Linked DNA regions of Homo sapiens: all the other regions are linked to region 4. The links are contacts of gene promoters, found by promoter capture Hi-C in blood cells and fetal thymus (Javierre and others, 2016). All regions are on one chromosome and are shown on one strand. The core of a region is centred on a gene start or on the middle of the fragment in contact, and the rest is flanking DNA. Distances in the headings are between cores, read along the strand shown.

Region 1 (3,041 bases), core at 423-2,922, 1.6 Mb before region 4:
CCTGTTGACGTGGCACTGTGCTAGCCTGAGAGACTAGCACAAGGTGCTAGCTCAAGGTGAGACTGTTACTCTTACTTTTTTAATGTGGGTTTTCTGTTTTGTACTCCGAAAGGGTGCTTTGGGCCTCATCCTTGGGTTCTGAAATTTTCACAAAGGCATTCTTGTATGTGGATAGTTGTTAGTCATATTTCTGTGAAGGGGACTAAAACTGAGCATCTTCTATTCTGCCATTTTGCTCCTACTGTTTCTTCATAATGGGTACATGAAGCACATAAAACTTAAATAGAAACAACAACAATGGTTGATTATTTTGCCTTTGGAAAATACTATTTTGATGGGAAAAAATAGTTTCTTATTTACCATATGCTAATATTGGTCACATTAGCTCCAGGAAAGCAAGGTAATACGTTGAATATTCTGATATTATAGATGGGATAAAACAGACAAAAGGCTAAGAAATGAATGAAAACATACTAGTTATGTTGGTGGCTATAAATTTTTGTGCCGTTTTTGTTATACTGGAGAATTATTTTTAACTCTCTTATTTATACTATGTACCACCATTTTGTTCTTATAAAGCACAACTCAAAACTTCTTCAAAGCCTTACAACATGCCGCAGAATAATGTGTCACTATTGCGTTGCTTATGAATGTTGAACACCTTGCAAAGGTTTTTATTTTAGAGAAATATTAGTCTTCAATTTCACATACCTGAAGTTAAAATGAATCACCCAATTTATGTCTGTTTTGACCTTATGATATATGTTGAATATTCACTAAAAAATCTCACTGGAGTTAGGCACACTTGCTTTATACAAAGCAAAATAAGACACATCTAATGGAGCTGTGTGAGAGAGCCCCTTGTTGGTGGGTTCTTTGCTCTTGCAAAGCTTTGGTCAGCAAAACCAACCCATGTAGTAGACACCAACCAGAGAAACTATACCATAGCCTCCCTTTATAGCAGGAGTAGAAGAGAATGCATCTATATTTTCGGATTTGTTGTTGTTGTTGTTGTTCTGAGATGGAGTTTCACTCTTGTTGCCCAGGCTGGAGTGCAATGGCACGATCTCAGCTCACTGCAACCTCTGTTTCCCGGGTTCAAGCGATTCTCCTGCCTTAGCCTCCCAAGTAGCTGGAATTACAGGCGTGTGCCACCATGCCCAGCTAATTGTATTTTCAGTAGAGATGGGTTTCTTCCATCTTGGCCAGGCTGGTCTCGAACTCATGACCTCAGGTGGGCCGCCTGCCTCGGCCTCCCAAAGTGCTGGGATTACCAGCATGAGCCACCGAGCCCGGCCTTGCATCTATATTTTCAATGTCAGTTTTCCCCCATTCCTAAGTCTCCAACTAAAAAGCTAAATATATAACTAATATACTGGGATACCATATCATTTCTTTATTCAGGAGATGTTGGTATTGAGGACAGGACCAGAAGGAAATCACATAAAATCACTACTTCAAACTGGTCCTCTGAGGAAATCAAAATAGGACAATCCATTTCCATGGATTCCCAACTTCCAAAAGTATTCTAATTTTCCCAGACATGGCTTTCTTATTTAAATTAAAGGCTCAGTTTCCTGTCTTCTTTTCCTGCCTAACTCCAGAAAACTTCTAAGGGAGCAAAGTAATAGAGGGCTCCAATTATCTCTAGCACACTCTGGGAGCCTTTATAAGGGCAAAATACAATTCGTTCTACAGCAAAGCACCTCTAACACATGGTCTCTAAGAGAACTTTGATCATGTGCCTTCGATTTTTTTTTTTTTTTGCCTATCAGAAATATTCTATACTTCTTTTTTCCTGCAGAGTCAACACATAATATTAAACAGCCTGTCTGCAGTATCTAATTAACAAACTGACTGCAGATCACTTACAACATAAAATATTAAATCATCTAAAAAACTAATATTCTCCACACCTCATAAATTAAAATAACCAAGAGACTGAAATGAAATAAAACCCTGATGCATATCGTTCTGGGCCTTTGCCCCCCAAAGAGGCTCTATTCCTTGAAGCATTTAACCATTTCAAAGAAAAAAAATATATATGCACACACACAGAGAGACACGCACACATACATGTATATCAAGCAATTTCAAAATGCTTTCTAGCGCCAGTTTATACTTCATCACAGCAACTCTAACTTGAGACCTCAGCCTGTACTTCTCTTGATCTTTTGCTTCACAAATCATTTTAAGTTCAGATATGGAGCTCATCAGTTATGTGTCTTTTCATTATAATTGCAATGCAGTCTTGGAGCTCAGTTCTGTTCCCATTGGCTCAATGGTCATCATTTATCTGCTTTGTATATTTAGGACATTATTTAACAGAAGCAGCAATCTGTTTGAAGAATTCAAGGGCCATTTGATATTAACACAGAGAATGATTAATCAAAGAGCATTTGGTCCTAAAGTATCAAGAGGAGCTGAGGTCATTAGCAGGGCAAAACCAGGAAGCAAGCTTTGACTAAGAAAATGAGATGGGCCAATACTTTGAGGATTTAAAATATAAATAAATAAGAAGGTTATGGTCATTCATTTCTGGAGCTTTTACTTTAAAGGATGACTGCTTTAAGAGATCTGAAAAAATATTACATTATTTCTTAAGATAGAGATTATTTTCTTTACAGTGAAATATGAAACTTTGCATCCAGATAATAGCTGAACCCATCAGTGTCTCTAGTAATAATTATTTCTTAATACTGGAATATTTCAATTATTACATATTGTAAATGAGAAATATCAACAGATGCAGAGCTGAGCATTGGATATGAGACAGAGCTGGACTAATTAAAACTGTTACCCTAGTGAGACTTCTCTGGCGCTCCAAGGTAAGGCCTTCTCTGCCAAAGAGACAGCGGTTTAATGTAATTATCCATTCCAAATTAGTTCAATTTTCTACATTTTTTTGTCAGTCATATCCATCAAGCATTTGCCCCATTGTATATTAGGGAAAATGGGAATGAACACCCCAAGAACAGTAAGAAAAAGCAATTATCTTAAATAGAAAAAAAAATTATCTTAAAAATTATCCAAATGTATCC
Region 2 (2,700 bases), core at 79-2,578, 1.7 Mb before region 4:
CGCATTAGGGTTTGGAACAAGGAAGGAGATGAGAGTTTCCGAGCTGTGTAACTGCCAGGGGTGGTGTATATACATTTGAAGAGTAAGGTGGGACTACCCCAGGATGGGTGATCCATGGGTTACACCTAAGGTAAGAGTAAGTCAGGAATGCCTAGGCGGATGCAGAAATCAAATGGGATCTGAAAAGAATGCCTATTCACCCAAAAGTGAACAACCAGGGAGAATAAATGTCAACAAAGGGGTTGCTTCTGAGAGCTCTAGAGTCTAGAGGAACAGGTAGCCAAAAATGAGTTAAAGCTGATGGAAATGTAAATATAGCAAATTGTGTGACAGCGTGTTCATACGGAGGCCCAGACTGAATCTGAGGACAAAGAAGTCACTCAACTTTCTGTGCTCCTGACTTTGGACCTTAAAGTTTCTCTCTCCAACTTCTGACATGACAATGTTTATTTAGCGCCTACTCTATGCCTGGCATGGAGAATACACATTAGACTCAAGATGGGCTTGCCTCTCCTGAGCATTCACAGCTATGGACCCATCACGCTTCCTGTCTTTTCTGTCTCCCTACTGCTTCTTCCTATTTGACCACTCCCTTTTTTCTTTTTCATTGGCTTCTTTTTCCCATTTCTTTTCATTCTAAATTTTCTTTCTTGATATTTAATGTATTCCCAAAGATTAATCTATTATTCCCAAAGGGGATGACCATATCTCTAGGTACTTGAATATTTCTCAGAATTTCCTTTCATCACTTCACACATTATATATAAATTATTTAGTATATGGGGTATAAAGATGAGTATGATATACATTTATCCATTCATTTATTCTTTTATCCAGTGACTATGTATTGAGTGCTTAATAAGTGCCACATATTATTGGAGAAACTGGTGATACAGAGATCATGAAGATGAGTTTCTTTTCCTCATGGACTCACGGTCTAGGGGAAGAGTAAAACACATAAACATACAAAGGTTGCAGAGGCTTAAGTGAAGAACTGTGAAAGGCCAGCAAATACATAAGATTGTAAGATAAACACTTTGCAGCCTAACATCACTCCTGTCTTCATCTTATTTTCCCATAATTTGCCAACTTGAATATATTTAACTTTGCTAAATAGTGCGTATCTCTGTATGTGACATTATCTGCATTTATTTTTTGTCATGGTGTGTGTTATGAATAAATACAATAAACAGAAATCTATATTTAAGGAAGATGATTTTGAGATGGGCATTGAAGGATGAGTAGAAGTTCAAGTAGTAAGAAGAGAAAAAAAGGCAAAATACACAGTATATGCAAAGGCATATGAAATTAAAGAATTTGAGGTGTTCTGATAATGGTGGGTAGTTTTTTATGGAGGCCATAGGGTACTTGGAAATGAATGGCAAGAAAGTTCTTCTGGAAGAAAAAGAACTTCTGATCATACTAAGGAGATTGGACCCTATCCTGTAGTCAATGAACAAACATTGTAGTCAATGAAGTAGAGGAATGACATTTGGCCCTTTGATGGCAGAGTGAAAATGATAGATTGAAGTGGAGCAGGCCAAAAATTAGGCAACAACTGGAATGAGGGCCTGGACTAAGGTACTAGTGGCAGTGGTATAAATGAAGTGATCAGTTTGAACAATATCAAAGAGATAGAGTGACAAGACTTTAAGAATCTTTGGGTACAGGCAATAGGGGAGAGAGGAGAGGCAGGCTTTCATCTGGATGGTGGATGACATCCTCATTCCCACAGACATTGGATGCATGGGCCTTGGATATAACTTAGAATCTTGCGAGGCGATAAAAAGACCACCAGCGCGTGAGAAGTGAGTTAGCCACAGTTTACCTTCTATGGTTTGCAGTTTGCCATAGACTTCCATTCCTTTATTTGATACTCTATGAATGATGTCACAGACAATACATGATCAAGTGTCAAACATAGATGGTGGTATGCTATGACATCAAGAATTCTGGGCTCACCTTCTGGACTGACAATAACTGGAGGTGTGAATTTTGGTAACCACTTACTGTCTTTGGACTTCATTTTCTCATCTTTAAAGTTTGTTTCAGGTGGGGTAGGGTGAGTAGTACTCTAGGTGACATTTAAGTTTTTTTTGGATCTATTAACTTATGAGTAAATACTCATCTTTCTTCCCCAAGATAGTTTCTCCTTCTGACTAGATTGTTATTTCCTGGAAGGCAGGGACTGCTGTGTTCATCTCTGGATTCCAATACACCACGTAGGATCTGGGGGTAAAAGTGCAGAGTTAATGTTATTGAGCAAATGACTGAATGAAAGATTTTCCTATTTTATTAATGATACTATATAGCCCGTTCTCTCTGCTTCCTGTTATTAAAACCTTGGGGTATTCTGTACCCGCCTTCTTCTTGCATAACACCCTCACTCCCCCTTGGTCTTGCTTCCTTAATCAGGACATACTTTTTCCCTCTAAGTGTCTTTTAGATACGGCTTCCTTTTCCACCTCTAGACAGTCACCCAGATCTCTGCACTTCACCTTAAATTGAGACTACTGCAACAATATGTTTGCTTTCTGTCGTAATCTCCCTCTCTTAAGCCCACTTCATATACTACTACCATATTTAGCTTCCACTGCTTTGTGGCTTAAACCCTCAAATGTCTACGGTGTACATTTATACTCAATGCCAGTCACAATCTGGCTCCAACCTGCATTGACGTGAATTCTCCAGTTAACCTGT
Region 3 (2,931 bases), core at 254-2,753, 1.6 Mb before region 4:
TCACCCAGACGCAGGCAGTGAGAGAGAGCATTGGTTCAGGAGCTGGACCCAAGTCACTCGGACTTTTCATTGAACTAGATACAGCTTACCATAGGCACAGAGCTACCGCTTTCCCAACACAAAGAGGAAAAATGAAGGCATTCTGAGCTGCATTGATGTACTGGGTGTTTGCCCAGCTAGAAAGCCTGTTTCTTCTCCGTGACTGGGCCAAAAATAAAAAAAAAGAAACACGTGGTCACAATTCAACTGCAGTTTTCCTTGGCAAAATATAAACAGGCCCAAATGAGAAGTCTCCTGTAGTGCTGCCTGAAACGGCCCTGGCCCTATTTCATGAGTCCAAAATCAGCGACACATTGATGAGGATGGGGGAGGAAAGAGTGAGCACAGCAGAGAAAGGAAACTTTAAAATACACAAGTGAAGGCACAGCACATACAACTTCCATGTCTGTCTGGCCCTTTTTGGTTAATTATTGCTTATTTCAGGCCATGACTGTTTGTACAATGGTGACCTAGTTTATCCAGATTGGCTTTATCCTTTACAGAAATAACTAAAAATTTGTCAGTATCAAATGTAAAGCAGTCAAAAAGAGGCACCCAGTGTCTACAGATATTAAGTGGAGCCAAGCAACTAAGTCATAACCTTAGACACTTTACAATGTTCTCCCAGATAAAGCAGATTTTAAGCACCATAACTGAGATTGCTCCTCATTTTAACTATATTGTCTTTTGACAACATGAACACATTAACTATTGTTCAAAAAGATTTTTATACATCACTACACAATTCAGCCAGCACTTAGATTGAATTCTATTTAATCCAAGAATTCCTGACCATAATGCAGAGAGTTTGGGCAGCTTCTCTTTTACTCTTACCTAAGGTATTTTATTAAATGCTTATGGTTTCCGTGAAACTTATGTTCATAACTGAACAGAAAGCAGCCAAGACAAGCAAGAATAGCTTCTCAATGGACATTCTTTTTCCTGGCATCTCATATCCATTTGGGTGGGAGTTCAACAACAGGCTAGCAAGTTTTTCTCTTTGGGCCCGTACCAGAGGCCTGATCTCATCTGATTGTTCAGTGCTAGCATGGTGAGGTTGGGAATTATAATTGAGAACCTACTGACAATCAGGTTATTGTTTGATCTAAGCTGAGATGGTAATAGAAAGGTCAAAGTTGTTGGAAGGGGTGCAGGTATCATTTGGTCTAGCCCTCAATTCTTTCCAGTCTCTCTTCCATACCTCTATTTATAGGAAATGCACTTTTCCGTGAGGAAGCCCATTCTAGTTTTGGCCACTTCTAATTGTGATAAAGTTGTTCTTTAAAATAAGTGAAACAGGAAATTTTCCGTGACCCCTTGGGGCACCTCGCTTACTCAGCCTGCTGCAGTTAACCCCTCACGGGAGGGGGAGCACTCAGGTGAGTGGGTGCAGGAGCCAGGACAAGTGTTTCTGGGCACTGGCAGGAGCAGAACTCTGTGCAGCCTCACAGCAGCTTCTGGAGCCCCAGAGGGCATACGTTACAGTGCTCTTTTAGCTTTGCCATCCATGGATAGCTTAAGTGTTAAACAACTCAACTGCCCACATCCGTGGCTCCCAAGCTCTTGTTTGGTGTCCAAGAAGAATCAGGTCACATGAACGAATTGGAGAGTAGTGAATACAGAGGATTTTATTGCTGATGAAAGTGGCTTTCAGTGGGAAGGGGAGCTGGAAAGGGGGTGGAGCAGGCAGGTGGTCTTCCCCTGGAGTCTGGCCATCCCTGACCAGGCTCTTCTCCAAAGTCCCACCGTCAAGCCATCCTTCTGAAGTCAAGCTGCTTCTCTCTGACGTCTGGCTGCTTCTCTTCTCTCCTTCTCTGCTGCTCCTCTGCCAGTGGAGCCTGGGGTTTTTATGGGTATGGGATGGGGGACGGGGTGGGCCAGGGTGGTTTTGGAAAAGGCAACATTTGAGTGGGAAAATGGGGATGTTCTCACTTTGGGCCACGGTTCTAGGCTTGAGGGTGGGGCTTCACCAGGGACCCCTTCCTTTTCTGCCTAGAATTTCTCTGCCTCCTGTTCCCATCATAAGGAGATACTGGCTTCTTATGTAACTTTGAACCACTGGTCCTGGTCTGCCCCCTAGAACCAAAAAACACAAGTTCAATCCCTGTTCTATCTTATAGATATTATGTATTAAAATCCAGCTATCTTTAACTTATGAATTTATTCAGTTTGCAGCTTATAGTGTCTATAGTGTCTTATTCAAAGTTGAATAGACCTGTATCTTCCCATAAGGAGTCTTCAGTCCATTTGTGTTCATGTCTCTTCTTCAATCTAAAATCTCTCAGTTCTCTCAACTTTTTACAAAACACAGAAACTTCTGTAATTTGGTTCTCCTCCTCTAGACTTCACAAGGAAAATATTATTACTAATGATAGTTATTGAGGATCCACTGCAAATTTGGTCCTGGACTGGGTTCTATAATAATCCTAACTATTCTGCAAGGTTAGTATTAGGTGAGTATTAGTCCTAACTATCCTGCAAGGCCTGTATTAGCCACGAGGAACTGCGTGGCTCATAAAGTAAGTGATCTTGGTTCACACAGCTAGTATGCGCTAGGTGGGCTATCTGAACAAACGTTGACCCCCAAACCTCCAGTTTGAGACTGTGTGTGTGTGTGTATGTGTGTGTGTGTGTTTAAGGGGTAGCAACTGGAATTGAAGATAGTGCATTGTCTCTACCTTGTTCATAGTAGAGAAGACCATCTCCCTTATATATGAAAGCAAATAGCTCTTAGTGGTAACACTTTCTTTTGGGTACTTCACTACATCACATAAAATATAGTAAAGTACATTGATATCCCACATGAAATGTATTTCTTATCATAAAATTTTTGAAAGGATTTTAAAACAATCTTTTGAAAAAAATTTTATCAAGAGTGACTCAGTTAATTTA
Region 4 (3,006 bases), core at 424-2,923:
AATAATGTGGATGTGCTCTCAAGCCTAGAAAGGAAGGAAGAAGGAAGGAAAGGAGGGAGGAAGAGGAAGGAGGGAGGCAAAGAGGGAATGAAAGGTAGCATTTAGGCTAGCCAAGAGACATGCTCCCTGGAAGAACTCAGAGGCCTCTGTGCTGTGCCTTTCCCAACCAGGCATCTGAGATTAACAGTGTGATACTCAGCCTGTGGATTTCCACTCTAAAATCCCGCGCCACCCCCCAACACAGCTTGGCTCAACTATTTGCAAATCACTTCTGATTCAATTTTGTTTTGGTTATCTCAGTGTAAATAACAGTTAAGTGGGAGTTACAGATTTTTCAAACACTAAAAGTGATAAAGCTAATGGGCAAGTCCAGATAAGGAGGGAAACCACCCAGAAGAATCCACAAGTACAAGCCAAGAAGAAAATGGGTAGTCAGGTGTGTGTTTCTCGTCACCGAAACTGTATTTTTCTTAATCTACAGAAAATTTTACTTTCTTAATTTAAAAAAAATCTTAATCTGTAAATATTTTTCTGAATTTTCTTATTTTTCATATACCTCTTTTGTGGCAGAAAAGGTGTACATGTGCAGGGTGTAATTTAGGCTGTTTCTGTTGCAGTCTTTATGATAATGTAGTAATAGGTGTCTGGTGAAGCAAGACAGTTTGGAATCCACAAAGCCATCCTCAGAAACAAAGATACAAGTGTTTCCCCAACTGTTAGCTTGCAGTTCCCTCTAAACAGTTTTCACGCCTCCATTTAAAAATAGTTGGCATAATGATGTTTTCTTTCTCTAGGCTTTGTGACCACGTTTCCATGGGGGAAAATGTGAATAGACGTAGTTACAGTAGCATTTGGATGAGACGCCTTCAAGCACCTATACTTTTTCGGGGGAACTTGATGGAATCCAATTTAATTACCTGAAGAAATTATTTGCTGAAGAAAGTCTTTCCTCTTTTTAGGGTAGTTACAGTTAAAGGCGCAGGGGTAACGAAATCCTAACCCAGAGAGGAGCAGAGCATGTTTGGGACATAACAAAGGATCTGAGTAGTAAACGCAGCGAGTGTTTGGGGTTTTATTCAGACCGGGCTGACGGTGTGTGTCGCCGCCACGCACCGCTGCCTGTTCGAACGCATGGCTGAGCTGCCGACCGGCTCGCTACCCCAAACACCGTACGCCACCCAACTCCTCTTGTAACGCCATCGCGCGTGGCATTGTGTTGGGTTCTGCGTGTGTGGCATCGGAGTCGTGGAATTTAGGGGGAACAAGGCTTTTCCCCCCGTCCCCCCGGGGTCTCCCTTGGGTGGGGGCGACACGGCCAAGGCGGCGCGCCCTGGGGGTGCCCGGGGGCGCTTCTTCCCCAGGGCGTTACGCACCGGCGGCCCGGCGCGGAGGTGCGCGGGGGCGATCGGGAGATGCGGGGCGGGCGAGGGGTGGTGGGATGGGCGCCGCCTTAACTTCGATCCTGCGGCGGCCCGAGAGAAGCCGTCGCCGCCCCGCCCGAGCTGGGTGCCGCGGCACTCTGCTCTGCGCCGCGCGTCTCCGCGGCTGCCTCTTTAATCAGGAACACAGAAGGGGCGGGCCCTGAGCCGGCGCGTAATCGGATAGCTCTGCCGCGGCTCTGACATCCACATGCTGCTCGGCCTGAAAAGGCAGTGGGGAGCCGGAGGGGAGGCAGAGATCGCGAGCGAGGCACCAGCCTGCAGCCGGCCCCCAGCACATCCTCAGCCGCACAGACACTCGGCGAGGTGGAGGTGAGGGCGGGCGCCAGCGAACTCGGAGAGGGGCTCGCTCACTCCCAGGCGATCCCAGCCGCCACCGCCGCCGCACCAGCAGCAGCAACAGCAGCAGCAGCTTCCTTCCTCAGACTCCCCTCGAGAGGCTGGCCAAGCGGGTGTAGCCGTTGGGGGAGGCTCCCGCCGGGGGAACCCGGCGAGGACAAGAGCAGGGCGGCCGCCTTCCACTCGGGCTGTCCGGCGGCGGCTGCCTCCGCCCGTGTGTCCGTCAAGGGTGCCGCGGGATGTGTGTCAGTTTACGCCTCTGAGATCACACAGCTGCCTGGGGGCCGTGTGATGCCCAAGGCAAGTCTTGGTTTTAATTATTATTATTATCATTATTGTTACGCTTGGCTTTCGGGAAATACTCGTGATATTTGTAGGATAAAGGAAATGACACTTTGAGGAACTGGAGAGAACATATATGCGTTTTGTTTTTAAGAGGAAAACCGTGTTCTCTTCCCGGCTTGTTCCCTCTTTGCTGATTTCAGGAGCTACTCTCCTCCTGGTGAGGTGGAAATTCCAGCAAGAATAGAGGTGAAGACAAGCCACCAGGACTCAGGAGGGAAACGCTGACCATTAGAAACCTCTGCATAAGACGTTGTAAGGAGGAAAATAAAAGAGAGAAAAACACAAAGATTTAAACAAGAAACCTACGAACCCAGCTCTGGAAAGAGCCACCTTCTCCAAAATGGATATGTTTCCTCTCACCTGGGTTTTCTTAGCCCTCTACTTTTCAAGACACCAAGTGAGAGGCCAACCAGGTAAGCCACTGAAAGTTTTTCTATTTATTGCAACATGGTTTCCCCTTTAAAAGTGACCGCTAAAGCAGGAAGGCCACGCAGAACGGCACAGAAGAAGGCTCCCTCAGTACTCAATAATTTAAAGAGAGATCCCAGCCGGCCCTTCCTACACCACCACGGCTGCTAAAACCCAACTTTCCTCTCCTGCTAGGAGTGTGTGTGTGTGTGTGTGTGTGTGTGTGTGAGTGTGTTTTGAAACAGAATTTGGCGGTGTTCATATGTCACATATGGACTGAATCAAAGGTTTAAAAATACTACAAAGCCTTTGCATTACAGTTTTTGGGAATTTTTTTTCCCTGTCTTGAAGCAGAACACATCTCCCTTGAGTTTCTCCAACTAGCCAGTGAAATATAAATCATTTGCATTCCCTCCACTTAGCTACATTGAGCAATGTTAACTGAAGGGCTTGGGAAAGACAAGAGTTTAGTTTT
Region 5 (2,700 bases), core at 175-2,674, 1.6 Mb before region 4:
CTGGCTAGAGGACTTGATTTCAATGACAGTCGATTATGACAATAGCCTCAGCCTGCCTCTCACACACTCCCTGCCAGACCTCCCCATCACATACAACTTTTTCTTTACTTTCTTTTTTTTTTTTTTTAAATTTTACTTTAAGTTCTGGGATACATGTGCAGAATGTGCAGGTGTGTTACATAGGTATACATGTGCCATGGTGGTTTGCTGCTCCCATCAACCCATCATCTAGGTTTTAAGCTTCGCATCATTAGGTATTTGTCCTAATGCTCTCCCTCCCCTTGCCCCCCCACCCCCCAACAGGCCCCTCCCTATATCCATATGTTCTCATTGTTCAACTCCCACTTATGAGTGAGAACATGAGGTGTTTGTTTTTCTGTTCCTACACATACACCTTTTTCTAAGAAGGTCATGGGGAGCAAGGAGGCTCACCAGCTGGAAAATAACATTAAAACAGGAACCATGTGGAAATATCCAGATGAGTGATGAACCTAAGAAATCTGTTTTGAAATGTGAAGATAGAATTTACTCTAGTAGTAACTGATGGGAGAAATTGACATCATTTCTGAAAACTTCACAAATTCCAAGAGCTCAGTTGACTCAGGAAGCCTGGTGGAGCTAAGTCTAGAAGTAAGGGTATGAAAACCTAAGAAAGAAAACTGTTCTTTTCTAAAAATTTTCTCATAAGTATAGCAAAGTCTATTAGACTAATTTTTTAAAAAGTGGCAAAATTCACGTGACTGGTCCTCATCTTGGTTCCAAGCTTGCCAGCCACGGAACTCTGTGCTACTGCTTTCTACCCTGTAAAATAGTGGTGACACTAATAGTACCTACTCCATAAGCTTGCCAAGAGGACTCCATGGGGCAATACACATGAACCACTGAGCACAGTGCCTAGCTCATAGTAAGCACTCTATAAATGTTAGCTATTACAGTATTTCAATCTGGGACACATGAAACCTTGTAAGGCCTGAAACCTAAAATTCAACGCATAAGGTGATGGTTGCACAACTCTGTGAATATATGGAAAACCATTGAAAGTATTCGTTCTAAATGGGTGGAATTGTATGGTATGTGAATTATATCTTAATAAACATGTTACAGGGGAAAAAAGCAGAGAAAGAGCTTTTCCTATTTCCTTCCTTCCTTCCTTCCTTCTTCCCTTTCTTCCTTGCCATCTCTTTCTTTCTCTTTCTTTCCTTCCTTCCTTCCTTCCCTCTTTCTTTCTTCCTTCCCTTCTTTCTTTCTTTCTTTCTTTCTTTCTTTCTTTCTTTCTTTCTTTCTTTCTTTCTTTCTTTCTTTCCTTCCTTCCTTCCTTCCTTTCTTTCCTTCCTTCCTTCTTCCTTCCTTCCTTCCTTCCTTCCTTCTTTCTTTCTTTTTGACAGAGTTTCCCTGTGTCATCCCGGCTGGAGTGCAGTGGTGCCATCTTGGCTCACTGCAACCTCCTCTTCTTGGGCTCAAGTGATTCTCGTGCCTCAGCCTCCAGAGTAGCTGGAACTACAGGTGTGCCTCACCACACCTGGTTAATTTTTTTGTATCTTTAGTAGAGATTGGGTTTTGCCATGTTGGCCAGGCTGGTCTGGAGCTCTTGGCCTCAAGTGATCCACCTGCCTCAGCCTCCCCAAATGCTGGGATTACAGCCGTGAGCCACCAGGCATGGCCAGTTTTTCCTTTTTCTGATAAGAATTTTCTTCTTTGTCTGATATGAATGTAGTACAATATGAATGACAGAGTTCTATTTCTTTACAGAGCAAATGTAGTTTTCCTAAATCTGAACTTTAGTGTTTCCTTCAGGTGTGAGGGATACCCCAGATTGAAATATTTTGAACAACTAGGGTTTGAATTTGTGGAAATGAACAAATAAAGAAAGAATGGAATTGCAGAAATAAATAAGAGGGAGAGAGAGAAGAAGAGAGAGAGAATAGTCTATTAATTTGTAGCTTGCTATACAGCAAGGGACCATCACTTGCATTTTGGTAGAGACTCACAGGCAGTCAGGGGAATGGAAAAGCTTTACAGTGAAAAAAGGGGCTTTAGGTATTGATGGAATTCAGGACATGCTACCCCAAAATATGGCACCTTGGCATTTGAGGGAACAGCAGAAGGAGGTCATGGAACGTAGGAGGGCCACTCTCACCTTCCTTTCATCCTTCTCCTGTGAAGCAAGTCATAGGACCCTAATTCAAGAGGGATCCTCCCCATACCTGGAAGAAAGAAACTTCCTTATCTCTGAAGACACAGGGACACAGAGAAGAACCTGAACAAACAGGCCTTGCTAAGTCCCCCGACTCACCCCCTGCAGTGTATTACCATTAGAACAAACCCCTTTGTCCAATCATGCTTCTCTGTGACTATTCAACTCTTCATCAAACCTAAGCATAAAAATACACATTTATTTGTTTCTTTGGGTTTTTATCTCTTTGTGAAGACTTTTGTGTCATATAAAACTTATATTAAATGAACTTGTATGGTTTTCTGTCTTTAATCTGTCTTTTGTTAAAAGAATTTCAGCCATGAACCTAGCAATTTGGAGGAAAAGATATTTATTTCCCCTGGGGCAGGGGTCCTCAATCCCTGGACCACAGATAGGTGGTAGTCTGTGGCCTGTTAGGAATTGGGCCGCACAACAGGAAGTGAGCAGCGGGCGAGCAAGAGTGAGCAAAGCTTCACTGTATTTAAAGTTGCTCCCCATGGCTTGCA
Region 6 (2,700 bases), core at 185-2,684, 1.6 Mb before region 4:
ACAGCAGGTACAGGTCAGGGTGGGGCAAAGAAAAGAAACAAGGAGGAAGCATTTGTAATGTATGAGCCTGGTGAAGTGCTGCAGTCTCCACTTCTGGTCAATGCTAGGAATGTAGTGGCGACACTGCATTTCTGAAACCAGATAAAAATAACAGAAACAAGAAGCTCTAGTAGAAATCGGGTTTGACAGCAGTCATTCCACATACCTGTCCATTATTTTTCACATTCCTTAGATTTCAGGCATTAAGATCGTAAATGCTCAATCCTTTAGAGAGCCAGTTAGCTTTGTGAAGGGAAGATATTTTAGTTAGCTTTGTGAAGGGAAGATATTTTAGTTAGCTTTGTGAAGGGAAGATATTTTAATTAGCTTTGTGAAGGGAAGATATTTGCGGCCTCCTGACTTATAAATCCATTTTTCTACTCATTGGGTAACTGTACCAAGCTTTCCCCAAAAAGCATACTATGTACAGCAGAAAAACAAACCAAATAGACTCTTATCAGACTTCTCAGAAAAGTCCCAAACCTTAGTGGCCTCAAAATTGAATTATTACAATGTTTGTGATCAGGGTCTCCCTTGATCCAGCAGTTGATAATTCAGGATGCAGTTGAACCGTAACCTAATTGGCATGCCATATAAAGGTTGTTATATCTGTGTTTGAAGACTAAACTTACTGTCATCTTGATCCAGGTGCAGTTCAACTCAATAACTTTGATCTTTCAACTCACTTAATTTTATAGACTAGTTTCTTCCTTGGTCCTACTTAAATATTGAAATAAACAAAGGACCCTTGGCTGCCAATATTACCTGGAAACCTTAGGATGTACTTTAATCAAAGTAAATGGCTTTGGAATCACGATTCTCAAACAGAAGTCTACATTTTCTGAGCATTCTCATGGCTCAGGGCAAAATTTTTCTGTCTCTTAGGTCCGCATAATTATTACAATATCAGAAAATGTTCACTTGGTGACTTACTTTAAAGTTACTTGAAAGATATAGGCAAATGAAAAGAGAAGAAAACGATGACAGCGATGGTTTCAAGATGATAAACTACTGTTTGGGTAGCATTAGCTTTGGCAGCCACAGGAATGTCATTTAGTGAATTAATTCACCTATTCAGTGCTGCCTTGAAAAGGAGCACAGTTTCCAGTATCCATTCTTCACCCCAGGAACATGTTCCTTACCCAGCAAGATGAGCTGCCCTGAGACAACCAACATCTTTTTGTATCTATAAAAGACTAGGTTGAACTATGATGTTGAGAATATTCTGTTCTACTTCAATATCTACCTGGATGTTTCAAAGACATAATGAACACTGAAGGATGCTTCTCATGTATATCCTACATATTTCCTATTGCAGTAAGCTGTGTCTCATTCATCCAAGTATCCCTTGTGCCTAATGCATTGTTTCATATATGTTTATGGAATGAATGAATGAATATAGATTTTGATGATATCGAAACTCCATGATATTATAACTCTTTATTCTGGAAATATTAACGGTGTTATTATAGTCATTTGCAGACTGGTAGAACAAGATGATCTAAAGTTAGTTTCCTGGCTTTTTTCTCAGTGGCTTCCTAACCCTTAAGTGCTTTTACATGCAATTGTTTGTGTGGATCTGTAAATGCAGAGTATGCATACATTCCTGTATTTGTTTTATAGCTTCCTACTCGAGAGATAAACTGTATTTTCTCTGTAAGATACAGAAAATTTTCATACTGGTGTTGTGTAGTGCCAAACACCATGTATTTTTTTTCCCTGCTGAATGGTATATTTTGAAATGTGTTTAAAAAGAAATACATCTATAAATATGCATAAGTGTAAACTTTCTAAAGTCTAGTTTTTGTGTCTATATTTGTTTCTTTGTAATTTATGTGTATGTATCATAATGTGCAATTCAATTAGAAATAAATAGTTGAGGAAATAAGAGAAATAAGAAAATAAGAGCAGTTGGGGGGAAAAAGATAACACTATCAAAGAGGCTGGAGCACAAACATATGTCATGAGGTACTACTAACTTGCTCCAAGCTCTTTAATAGGCAATGTATAAAGTGGAATTCAATCCTCCTACACTTTATAAGATAAAACTAGGTGATCAGGAGTGGCCTAGCTATTCCTGGCACTGAAGCCTGAAAGAAACTAGTCACATAGGTCCTCAAAGAGGAGACATTGTGCAATCTAGTTGATAATACCTTCAACAACATCCTCATAGATGATACAATGAGCTTCACAAGTCTGCTTCTGATAACGCCCCTCCTTTTAGGCTGGTGACATTGAACTTAATGTTAAAGCAATCCAACAGAGGACCAATTTGATGAGGTCTTAGGGAACAACTTTCTGACATCTAGCTTAATCTCAAGATAGATTTTTAAAGAGTCAGAGGCATGAGTGGACACCAGGACACTTCCATAAATTGTTTCTTCCAATTAAGCTTTGGGTAACTATTGGCTGACACTGAGTTCAAGGTGATACTGTTATTCATAAGGGGAATGACCTTGGGAGCCATGGACTCCTGAGATCTCGGGAAATGTTGTAAAGATAGAGATGAATCAGACTCAGGGATTCTAGAAAACTTGCTGTTGGATGTCCTCCAGGATCAAATATAACATGTGACTCAAATATAGCTCTATTTATGTAAAAAAAATTCAGTGTAGAAAAGAACAGTCAATATAGTATCCACTGAATAACTTTTAAACTTCT
Region 7 (2,700 bases), core at 128-2,627, 1.8 Mb before region 4:
TTTTGAGATGGAGTCTCGCTCTGTCACCCAGGCTGGAGTGCAGTGGCACGATCTCGGCTCACTGCAAGCTCCGCCTCCCGGGTTCATGCCATTCTCCTGCTTCAGCCTCCCAAGTAGCTGGGACTACAGGCGCCCACCATCACACCCGGCTAATTTTTTGTATTTTTAGTAGAGACGGGGTTTCACCGTGTTAGCCAGGATGATCTCGATCTCCTGACCTCGTGATCCGCCTGCCTTGGCCTCCCAAAGTGTTGGGATTGCAGGCGTGAGCCACCGCGCCCGGCCTATGTAATAGTTTTTAAGAGCTTTCATATACATTACCTTTTGGTCCTCACAAGGATCCTCTGTGATTACAAATGAGTGAACTTTCGCTCAGAGAGGTTAGGCATCTTTCTCAAGACCACACAGTTGGTAAGTGACAGAGTCAGGTCTAAAACAAAGGTCTTTGAATTTTATGTGCATATATATATATATGTATGTATGTACTGCCAATTGAGTGTCATCCTTTAAAGCAGAAGTTAAAAATGAATAGTCCATGGGCCAAACTGGATCTTTAGATATGTTTTGTTTGCTTCCTATAATGTTGGCTCATGGTGTATTTTAAACTTTTTGAATAAGCTCCAAAATTTAAAAATGGGGATGTTTCCCACAAAGACTAGAATTTCATGTGTCTTTGGAAAAAATCAGAAGAGATGGTTACACTGGATTCATATTCCCTAGCGGCAATGTACAGCTGAAGCTGTGTGTGTGTGTGTGTGTGTGTGTGTGTGTATGTGTGTGATTCTAGCTGGTTATAAACTGTAGAGAAGCAACGTGGCATGGTTTGGCTGTGCCCCACGCAAATCTCATCTTGAACTGTAATCTCCTTAATCCCATGGGTCATAGGAGGGACCAAGTGGGAGATAATTGAATCGTGGGGGCAGTTTCCCTTATGCTGTTCTCACGATAGTGAGTGAATTCTCATGAGATCTGATGGTCTTATAAGCCCACCTCATGGATATGAGACATGGAATCAAAGGAGATCATTTCAGAACTTTAAGGTTTAGTGACTGCCCTATTGGATTTCGGACTTGCATGGGGCCTGTAGCCCCTTCATTTTGGCCAATTTCTCCCATTTGGAATGCGTGTATTTACCCAATGCATGTACCTCCTGTATTCGTCTGTTCTCACATTGCTACTAAAGACATTCCTGAGACTGCGTAATTTATAAAGGAAAGAGGTTTAATGGACTCACAGTTCCACATGGCTGGGAAGGCCTCACAATCGTGGCGGAAGGCAAAGGAGAAGTGAAGGCATGTCTTACATGGTGGCAGGAGGGCTTGTGCAGGGGAACTCCTATTTATAAAACCATCAGATCTCATGAGACTTATTCACTACCATGAGAACAGTATGGGGGAAACCACCCCCACAATTCAGTTATCTCCACCTGGCCCTGCCCTTGACACATGGGAATTATTACAATTCAAGGTGAGATTTGGGTGGGTACACAGCCAAACCATACCACTCCCATTGTATGTAGGAAGTAAGTAACTTGCTTTTGACTTTACAGGCTCATAGGTGGAAGGGACTTGCCTTGTTTCAGATGCGACTTTGGACTTGGACTTTTGGGTTAATGCTGGAATGAGCTAAGACTTTGGGGGACTGTTGGGAAGACATGATGGTGTTTTGAAATGTAAGGACATGAGATTTGGGAGGGGCCAGGGGCAGGTTTGGCTGTATGGTTTGGCTGTATCCCCACCCAAATCTCATCTTGAATTGTAATCCCCAGAATCCCCATGTGTCATGGGAAAGACGTGATGGGAGGTAATTGAATCATGAGGGTGGTTTCCCCCACGTTGTTCTCATGATAGTGAGTGAGTTCTCATGAGATCTGATGGTTTTATAAGCATCTGGCATTTCCCTTGCTGGCACTCATTCTCTCTGCTGCTGCCCTATGAAGAGGTGCCTTCTGCCATGAGTGTAAGTTTCCTTAGACCTCCCAAGCCATGCGGAACTGTGTGTCAAGTAAATGTCTTATCTTTGTAAATTACTCAGTCTCAGGTATTTCTTCATAGCAGTGTGAGAACAGATGAATACAGAACTGTAGAATGGTAACTCAGGAGCCAAAGACAGAACTAAGGGAGCCTGAACTCTGCAGAGGCTGGAAGGAATGGGATCCAGAGAGGTGCCTTACTTATGTTTTGAGGAATATACTATCATTGGAATGAAGGCCAACATGAATAAGTGGCAGTATATTTGTTAAAAATATCAATCATACCATTTGGCAGTCACATCTCATGCTGATTTTTTTCACCCCTCATGGAAATATATAATCAGTTTTCTGGGCTTTATGGATTAATTAATAACTTTAAATGAGAAAATATTTGGCTGTCAAAATGGAATATACTTTTGTTTTATGATTAGAGATGGGCAAGTGATGAGAGATGAATCAGGATGATGAATTATATATTTATTCAATTAATTTCAATGTGAAATACAAACATGTTTTGATAATTTTCTGCTCTCACATTATGATTCAGAGTGAAAAATTGTCATTGGTGAGCATTCCCAAGGTCATATGGTTCCTCCAAAAGTCAAGGATTCTTCAAACACTTGTTCATTCAATAAATAGTTGTGGAGCATTGCAAACATACTTGCAAAGAAGGCATCTTTAGGCTGAGGCGGGCAGATCACAAGGTCAAGAGATCGAGACTATCCTGG

Evidence for each region. Contacts are between HindIII fragments. The CHiCAGO score rates a contact against its expected background, and 5 or more counts as called.
Region 1: a fragment that was not itself captured here is called in contact with the fragment with the promoter of NRP2 in region 4 in 1 of 17 cell types (M2 macrophages); the score reaches 8.4 in M2 macrophages.
Region 2: a fragment that was not itself captured here is called in contact with the fragment with the promoter of NRP2 in region 4 in 2 of 17 cell types (M1 macrophages and M2 macrophages); the score reaches 9.3 in M1 macrophages.
Region 3: a fragment that was not itself captured here is called in contact with the fragment with the promoter of NRP2 in region 4 in 2 of 17 cell types (M2 macrophages and naive CD8 T cells); the score reaches 8.4 in M2 macrophages.
Region 5: a fragment that was not itself captured here is called in contact with the fragment with the promoter of NRP2 in region 4 in 2 of 17 cell types (M2 macrophages and M0 macrophages); the score reaches 9.7 in M2 macrophages.
Region 6: a fragment that was not itself captured here is called in contact with the fragment with the promoter of NRP2 in region 4 in 3 of 17 cell types (M2 macrophages, M0 macrophages and M1 macrophages); the score reaches 12.7 in M2 macrophages.
Region 7: a fragment that was not itself captured here is called in contact with the fragment with the promoter of NRP2 in region 4 in 1 of 17 cell types (M2 macrophages); the score reaches 8.0 in M2 macrophages.

Annotation. Positions count from the first base shown.
Region 1 is chr2:204,098,849-204,101,889 of GRCh38, forward strand. No RefSeq gene overlaps it. Among named protein-coding and RNA genes, the nearest start is that of ICOS, 160 kb to the left of the region's middle. The HindIII fragment of the contact is 1,568 bases long and covers 889-2,456 here.
Region 2 is chr2:203,990,601-203,993,300 of GRCh38, forward strand. No RefSeq gene overlaps it. Among named protein-coding and RNA genes, the nearest start is that of ICOS, 55 kb to the left of the region's middle. The HindIII fragment of the contact is 3,745 bases long and covers 1-2,700 here.
Region 3 is chr2:204,116,138-204,119,068 of GRCh38, forward strand. No RefSeq gene overlaps it. Among named protein-coding and RNA genes, the nearest start is that of ICOS, 180 kb to the left of the region's middle. The HindIII fragment of the contact is 9,583 bases long and covers 1-2,931 here.
Region 4 is chr2:205,680,828-205,683,833 of GRCh38, forward strand. It overlaps NRP2 (neuropilin 2), which reads left to right and starts at 1,674. Exons shown (of 17, transcript NM_003872.3): 1 at 1,674-2,536. The coding sequence starts at 2,464. RefSeq lists a silencer at 1,075-1,194. The HindIII fragment of the contact is 6,030 bases long and covers 1-3,006 here.
Region 5 is chr2:204,061,615-204,064,314 of GRCh38, forward strand. No RefSeq gene overlaps it. Among named protein-coding and RNA genes, the nearest start is that of ICOS, 130 kb to the left of the region's middle. The HindIII fragment of the contact is 1,169 bases long and covers 841-2,009 here.
Region 6 is chr2:204,078,402-204,081,101 of GRCh38, forward strand. No RefSeq gene overlaps it. Among named protein-coding and RNA genes, the nearest start is that of ICOS, 140 kb to the left of the region's middle. The HindIII fragment of the contact is 1,990 bases long and covers 440-2,429 here.
Region 7 is chr2:203,929,537-203,932,236 of GRCh38, forward strand. No RefSeq gene overlaps it. Among named protein-coding and RNA genes, the nearest start is that of ICOS, 5.9 kb to the right of the region's middle. The HindIII fragment of the contact is 4,218 bases long and covers 1-2,700 here.